2 separate regions of the Homo sapiens genome follow, and region 1 is linked to region 2. Evidence: promoter capture Hi-C in 16 types of primary human blood cells and fetal thymus (Javierre and others, 2016). All regions are on one chromosome and are shown on one strand. The core of a region is centred on a gene start or on the middle of the fragment in contact, and the rest is flanking DNA. Distances in the headings are between cores, read along the strand shown.

Region 1 (4,264 bases), core at 731-3,230, 750 kb after region 2:
AGCACATGGCTCAGTGCCCATTAGGATCATAAATTACTTGAGTAATGCTAATTATTTTTTGCCTTCAGTGCTCATGATCAATATATTTGTGTGTGTGGTTTTTTTTACTTTAAATGTATTTCTTTGCATATATTAAATTTCTCAAGAGTGAGCACAGGACCAAGGGCAGAGACCAAGCATGTCACATTTTTCATTGTTTCCTCTGCACCTGCCCTGGTGAGGAGCACACAGTAGGCACTCAATATCAATTTGTTAAATAAGCAATTGGATCATTGAAAACATCTGCCTTTACTAAGGCAGGTTTAATATACTTGCAAGTATATTCCATAGCATTGCTTTGAAAACTTTTTTCTCTGAAAAACCAATGAGTTGCAGAGAAATTACTGGGGGTTCTTCTAACATAAATGAGTTCATAGGGACATGGTTAATTCCTGCCTGCTCCATAGCTATCAGATTTGCATTCCAGGAAGAAGACCCATGTAAAAGAGCTCTCCAGCTTCAGAACGCTTCAAAAGCCTAATTGCATTAAGTCAATAATACTCTGTTGAGTAATAATTTGCTACCTGACATTAAATGATGAAATGTTATAATAAAATACTAGTATGCTAAATTAAGTGCCAACTAAACAACAGTTCACAAAACCCAGATTCACCACAAGTTAAATTCTAAACCTTCTTCTTTTGATGAGCATTTTCTTCATTTTTCAGCACTGCCATTGCAGACCAGTGACTCCTGGACAACTCACTCCCAGTCTTTGCACCCACTCACTTTCCTTTGCACCCCCTTTCCCCACAGCTTAAATCTTCTCATCAGGGACACAAGCTAACTCTCATGCATGCCCTATGGAAAGCAAGCTCCTATGGGAAGGAAAAAAACAAATGTCACCAGACTCCCGAAGCATGTGACCCTGGATCCAACAGAAGACATTTCAATTTTCAGACCACTCTCTTCCATTCACCCACAGGTCTGTGGGCCACAGTCTGAACTAGCCACTTTCCTGTCTGGCTGTCAGTCTTTACTTCTCTTCCTTAAGTGAAAGAGCAAGAAAATAAAGAAAAAAGAAAAGTATCTGAAATTTTAAGGACACAGATAACAAGGAAGGGGAGTATTAAATAGTTTTGAAGTGTTTTATATCTCAGTTTTTTCTTCTTCCTTTTTTTTCTCCACCACCCTACCCCCAGCCCCACCAGGAGTGATTCTGAAGTTCTACTTTGCTTGCCAGCTCTGCACTGAGCTCTCACTTCCCAGCACTCATCAGGGATGATTACAAGCCACATTCCCTCAATAAAAGCAAATAAGGAAACAGCTTTCCTTTACCATACTGACCACATATGTGTGTAGTGAAAGTGGGAAGGAGAGACCATAATATATGTCCTAGCAACACAAAAGCACACCCTCCACTTTGCATACATATTTACCCAATTTCATCTAGAGGTCCCATGTGCTTCAATTGCTCATTTATTCTTCAACCTTAGATAAGGAGATGAGGGAGGGGGAGGGACAGACAGACCTATAGATGACAGATCTGTAGCCAATGTTGTTAGCATGCCAGATCTTATTACAGGACCATGGGAGGTCATGCACGCCACATCCAGACTCCATGGGGACCACCACATTTAAAACAAGATGAAAAAAATGTGATGTAGGGGAAAAAACCCTCATGGGCAGCCTTCAAAGGCAGAGACAGGTTGTGACTGGATTAACATTTATTGACTGTTTAAGCCTGCTTTTTTGCTTCAGGACAGAGATACATGAGTTTAATTGCAGAGGCTGTTCTGCCAACTGATCACCAGAGTGGCAACCAAAGCTTAACTAATCGGTCCTTCATTAGTGAAAAGTCTCTATTACAAAACAAATTAAGCATGCTCTGATCCTAACCTACAGGTCCAATGGCATTACGGCAAAGTTTAAGCTGTTAGAGCTGTGAAAAACTTATTAAGGGTTAGCGCTGAGATAGCACTTGGCTATTGATTTTACAATACACAGGTATTATGATTTATGGAGTGCTGGTGTCACTCTAACAAGCTGAAGGACACACAATATCATCTCCAGCATCATTAAAATTCAGAAGCCTCCAGAACTAACTCATCAACCATTGTGCATTGTCACAGACTACGGAGCCAGGCCCCAGCTTCAAAACGTCCGAAGCTTTGAGACAGTCACCTCCCTGCTTGCTTGGCAATCAGAAGTATAGACCGGCCCCTCAAAATGCTTTCAGTGCCTTCAATTAATAATCAGAGGCTATTTTCACCCTGAGTTGTCAAATATTTTGTTATTTAATTTTGCCTTTTAACATCCAGAAGTATTTTGTGCATATCTACTACACATCTGTTTAAAAAAGAAAGACTATACACCAAGGCAGTATATAATTCAGGCAAGGATCTAACTAAACCATGCCAAAAAAAAAAAAAAAAAGATTTTTTTTTTACACATAAAAAGCTGGCAGAAGTAGCTGTGGTAATCCATCAATAGATATTCAATGAGCACCAATTAGGTTCAAGTCATAGTAATAAGAGTTAATCATTATTAAGCATTTACTATATTCCAGAATTGTTCTGTCCTTTTATTTTATTAATACAGTTAATCCTCACAAAAACCTTTGAAATGAAAAGTAGTTTTTTATCTCCTTCTTACTGATAAAAATACAGAGACACAGAGAAGTTAAGTGTATAGCTGCCAGGCAGAATAGCCAATATTTCAAAGTGAGGCAGTTTGACTTCCAGGTGTTGTCTTGGGCCAATTCCTAAATGTAACAATCATTTCTATTAACAAAAGCTGCATCTTTTCAACTAACTTCAATATCGGTCAGTCTGCAATTTGAGGATGTTTCCAGTTAAATCGAATTTTAAAAATTGACCATTAGTTTTGTTGAAAAACTTTCCCATACAGTGTTATTGAAACACCCTTCAGTTATTTTCTGAGTTACGTAATCACAATGAGTATATTCTTTCAGAGCACCCATTTTCTGTGCCTTTAATCATTTTTGATACTTTCATTTATTTGTATCTTTCTACTTTGCATAAAATGATAGATAAATCAAAGACATAGTACTTTTTTCTTTTTTTCTTTTAACATCATTTCCCACTCCCAAACTCAAACTAAGCCCTATACTGAATTTTTTACAAGCATCTGTGGTATTTACAATCAATGTTGTCATAAACAAATTAAATTACAAACTTCTAACTTAGCTTTATGTATGTATTTTTCCATGACAATGTTTACCAAAGAGTGGAAATAGGCAAGTGATGTGTCTATATTGTATCTGAAGCTAAAGAATTTGGGGACTGGTGTAGCTGAAGAGTCTTCTTTCAAACCTCTCTCACCCGTAGGTTCTGGGGCCACAGAATATGGCCCTTGGAACAGTGTTATAATTTTATTATTGATTCGTGTTCAACTTTATAACGTCAGATAATTTCCTGTTTCATGTGCATAGTGAATCATTTTCTAAATTTCATTTGAGATTTCTTTTCCCATGCACTTCACACACATTATATCCCTATTAAAGATTGTTCCAATTCTTACTAGCCATTTTTACAACTTGAAAGGTTATTAGATTTCAAATTCTGCTTGTCATTTCCTCCCACTGTCCTGGTGTCTTTCATCATCTAAGTGCCCAAGAATATCATAGATGTTACAGATGGATAGCTGGCATCTATTTGCCTAGCCAATACTGAGTTAGGAAAATCTTCTCCTTTGTTATCTATCCACCCAAGCAGCTTTCCTCTGCTTCTCAATGTAACTTGCCAGTACCAAGGGGTCTCCATGGTTCTGATTATCTTTGGATCATGCTGGCCCTTTAACTCAAAGTGCACTTCCCTCCACTCTCCACCTATAAAATCACAATTCATTATTAGTGGTAGGAATCAACTGTTATCCCTTCCTGGAAACCTTCTGTGATTCCTTAAGTCAGAATTAATCACTCTACCCTCATTTGTTTCCCTGTGTTAGCAACTTAATTTTGACTGAATCAAAAGCCTCGCTGATAGGAAGTTGTATATGAAATCAGAGTTTTGCTCACGTGCAGTTTCGTTGTATTTACTCAACTATTCCCTGGGAGTTTAGAATCTTCCACAGTATTCATCTCTGATACTTTAGTCTTGTTTTCATGTCTTGCAAGTATTGTTTTCTGACCTTCAGCCCTTTTGGTATTCATTTAGTCAAATTTGTTGCTCGGTAGCTTTTATCTGTCTCACATAAACCATGAAATAGAATTTCTTGTGTCCATCGTGGTATTTCCTTTTAAAATATGCACCTCTTCTGAACT
Region 2 (3,951 bases), core at 683-3,182:
TTCACCGTGGGCTAGCAGCCGGGGTGTCCGCACTGTTGTCGCTCTGCCTTCATTCTTGGAATTGGGGCGCACTTGGCCCCTGTTTGGGCAGTGCTGGGGGTGAGGGGACTAAACTACAGCACTTTTCAGAAACATGGGGGACATTTACACAAGAGAGGGCTCCCCAAGCCAGCTTGCACTCACAAAATATAGCATTTCTTAAGGAACCAATGGAGCAGGAAAGAGAGGGAGTGGGATAGGGCGAAACCCCAAAGCCACTTGGTTTTTCCAACACGTAAACGAGCAAATACAGAGTCCCCCAAATACCTCAGAGACCAACCACACAGTCACTTCTATCTAAAAAGAAAAAAAAAAAGAAGAAGAAGTCCAAGTCGCTGGAGAGTTTCTGGAAATCAAGCACCAAACACCCACAAAGGAAAACAGCAACAACAACAAATCCGCTGCCCTTGAGCGCTCCCGCCAGCACCGCGCCGGGTCAGTCTCCTTTGGGGCATTTCTCCTTGCTCATCTTTTTCATTTTCATCCTACGGTTCTGAAACCAGATTTTGACCTGTCTCTCTGTTAGGTTGAGAATCCTGGCCACCTCGTAGCGCCGGTCCCGGGTGAGGTACATGTTGAAGAGGAATTCTTTCTCCAGCTCAAGCGTCTGGTATTTGGTGTAGGGACAGCGCTTTTTCCGGGTGGAGCGAGCGTGGATCCAGTTCGCGGCGGGGTTGTCTACAAAGAGGGAGGTTTGGAGACGGGGAGAGAGGAGAGGAGGGGAGGCAGGGAGAGACCACAGGGTGGGGAAGAGAGGTCGTTAAATTAATTTCACCAAGGATGGTCGCTTTTCACAACTTGTGGGGAATTATCATAAAAAGCCTTAATGCTCGCGCTCTGTTTACCGTACTAACTGAGCGCCCAGGGTAGGTGGTTATGGGAAGCTCTTTTTATGGATGCATGTTGTTCGCCTAGGCTTGGGTAGGCGTCTAGACGTTTTTATAGGTTAGTAAAACTATCAGTTTTGCACATTCGAGCCTTACAGGTTTCAGCAATAAATCAGGGGGCAATTTCTTTTGCACTTACTTGGGTCAAGTTGCTGCTGCTGCGGCTGCGAATGCTGCTTCTCCTCCTCCTTCAGCGAACAGCCTGGGATCGGGTGGTCGCTGCAAGCTGAGGGCTCCGACGAGCCGCCCGTCCCAGTCGCGGCCCCGATCCCTGCCCCAGGCCCGGTTCCCCCCGTCGCCGCTGCCGCCTTCTCCTGCAGGAACGAGTTGCACGAGAACTCGGGGCCGCTGCTCCCCTGGGACTCCCGGGCCACGGAGCACTCAGTCCGTTTGGAGGAGGAGGATAAGGAAGTGGAGGAGGAGGAGGTGGTGGAGGCGGCCGTGGCGGGGGCCGGGGCCGCTCGGGTTTCAGGCTTAATCCCGTAGTGGCGCCCGTTGGCTGGGCCGCTGGGGCCAGGGCTGGGACCGCGGCCCGGACCGCCGCCTCCACCACCACCGCCACCGCCCGCACCGCCCGGGAAGCCGGGCAGCGGCTCCATCCAGGAGCGCACGTAGCGGCCGGGCTCGGAGGCAGAGGCGGCCAGGGGCGGCGGGGGAACGTACGGGTGGTAGAGGCCGCTCATCGCCGCCGCTGCCGGGGGCTGGGAGGGCACCGCGGACCACGAGGCAGAGAACACGGCCGATCTGGGGGCAAAACTACACGAGGCGAACTCGGCGGCGGTGGCGGCCGGGCCATCAGCCACACCTGCAGGCCGGCCCTGCGCGCCTGGCCCCGGCGGCCCGAAGCGCGCCGCGAACACCTCGTCGCCCTCATGGCCTATAAGCGAGTCCACGTAGTAGTTGCTGAGGGTGCCACTGGAAGACATTTTGAGGCGTCCCGCACTCCCACCCAACATTACACTGTCCGCCGCCGAGCAGCTCCCCGCCGGCGCCCGAGCCACCGACTAGTTCGCAGGCTGCAGCCTCCACCATTGGTCGCGCGGCCCACGTGATCATATTTACCAATACCGGGAGTAAATCAGTCCGCTAAACTGGGGGCTGCTGTGATTAAAAAAAAAATCATCAACATAAGCGCCGCAATTAGAGCCCGCAGGCCCAGGTCCATGTGCCCGGCTCGGCCCGGCCCGACCTGGCCTGGCCCGCCCAGCGGCTGCCAGGACCACAGACGCGACCGCATCCAGAGGAGGCGCTGGGGACTATTTGTTCGCTTCTTCTTGCAGCCCTCGGTCCCGCAGTCGGGCCCCGTCGCTGACTCTCCAGCTTCCGAGCCGCGGGCGGCGAGTCCAGGGCACACGGAGCGGCCGCGGGGGCGCCAGGCCGGTGTCGCCCGAGGCAGGCGGGCCCTCGGGGCGGCCCCTAGCGCCCGAGGGGAGCTGTTCTCCCCTCGCCTCTCTCCCTACTCACACCCACCCCTCCCCACACATCCCCACACACACGCTTGCTCACAGCTTGTCGTGTTGTTTAAAACAGGTGGAAGACCTCTGTAATGATATTATGCCTTTCAATAAAAATTTTATGAGGTGTATTTGATTATAGATTAATGTGTCCCTAATAAAACGGACGGATGGAGCAGATCGGAGGGCCCCCTCCCCCTGCCACACTCACACACGCCCGCGCGGCCACACACACCCCGACGTGAGGCTGGGCACACGCCGCGGCCCGAGGGGCGAGCCGGGGCGCGGCGGTGGAGGACACAGAGGGGCTTCTGCCTGCCCTCGGAAGGGCGGGCGGCCGGGCGAGTTGGCGCAGCACGGACAGTGGCGGCCAGGGTGCTTCGTCTTCTCCGATGATGCTGGAAAGGCCCTGGAAGAGAACACGCCACAGGGCAGAACCCAAATGCTAGAGCAGCTTGCTCCCGCCCGCCGCCTCAGCCCTGCCTCAGCGAGTCTCCCCGGGCAGGGCCGCTTCGCGCGGTTCGCACTTAAAGGCCTCGGAGGAGACTCCCAAAATGTCTAAAAAATTCGGCCGAATGGCTAGGTCCTTGGGACACTCCCTTCTGATTTTTTTCCCCCTACAGAGGTGAGGTTGAGCAGCCTTGAATCTGAGGGAAATGCCCATTGTCACTCCCAAATCCATGGTACAAAGCCTCGGAAGCCCGGCTGGGAGCCCAGACAAAAGCGGCCGGGGCGCCGGCAGCGGAGGGCATATTCCTTGCTCTACAAGTTGCCCAGCTCACCCTTGGAGGGCTCCCGGCCCACCTCCAGCCCCGAAAAGGAAGCGGGTAAATGGCTATTTATGGCCTGATTGATTACCTTTGCCAATAGCTTTCTGATTTTGTTCCAGATGGGATGCCTTTGCCTTGTAGCTCAGGCTTTCCTCGGATACATGGCCCGCTATCAACAGCTAATGGTATTCCCCACATGATCGGAGAAACGGCTAAATAAAAATTACCCTCCTCCTGCCCAACCGGTGTTAAGTCTGGGGCAAAGCTATTACAACGTTTTCAATCTAGCATTGATTCCAAGCCCTCTCCCCCACCCCCAGGAAATGGCCCCCTAAAAGAGTTCTGTCTTGGAATGTTCCTGGTTTTGGGGCGGAAGTTTAAAATTTTGAATGCCAGTGTCCCAGAGACTCCCTGGCTGAGGACTTATAGCACCTAAATGGATCGTTCTTAGGGAAACATTTAAAAGGAAGAAATGGAAAGGATGTGTTTTGTAAAACTGCTGGAAGCTATTTGAAACTGCAGGCAGGACCTCAGGTAACGAATTTTCTGTTAGCTTTCTCCTGCAAGGCCTCTTCTCCCTTTTCCCCGACAGGACTAGATAAGTCTGGGCTCTCTAGTGGAGATCCTGTTGAAGCCGGTGGAAGCTGGTGGGAGTCCCCTGGACCATGGCAGCGAATGGAACATTAGACTTCATGGGAAGTCATGTTCATTTGCAAAATTTTCAGTCACCCTTTCTGCATTTTCTTGCATCCCAGATGCAGCAGTTCCCACCAGCATTTTGTAATTAAATAGAGGAAAGAC

What was found. Contacts are between HindIII fragments. The CHiCAGO score rates a contact against its expected background, and 5 or more counts as called.
Region 1: a contact is called between a fragment that was not itself captured here and the fragment with the promoter of HOXD9 in region 2, in 4 of 17 cell types (monocytes, M0 macrophages, M2 macrophages and 1 more). The highest score is 6.8, in monocytes.

What each region holds. Positions count from the first base shown.
Region 1 is chr2:175,368,619-175,372,882 of GRCh38, reverse strand. No RefSeq gene overlaps it. Among named protein-coding and RNA genes, the nearest start is that of ATP5MC3, 190 kb to the right of the region's middle. The HindIII fragment of the contact is 341 bases long and covers 1,810-2,150 here.
Region 2 is chr2:176,120,700-176,124,650 of GRCh38, reverse strand. It overlaps HOXD9 (homeobox D9), which reads right to left and starts at 1,932. Exons shown (of 2, transcript NM_014213.4): 1 at 1,066-1,932; 2 at 1-717. The coding sequence starts at 1,882. The coding sequence ends at 476. The HindIII fragment of the contact is 6,351 bases long and covers 1-3,951 here.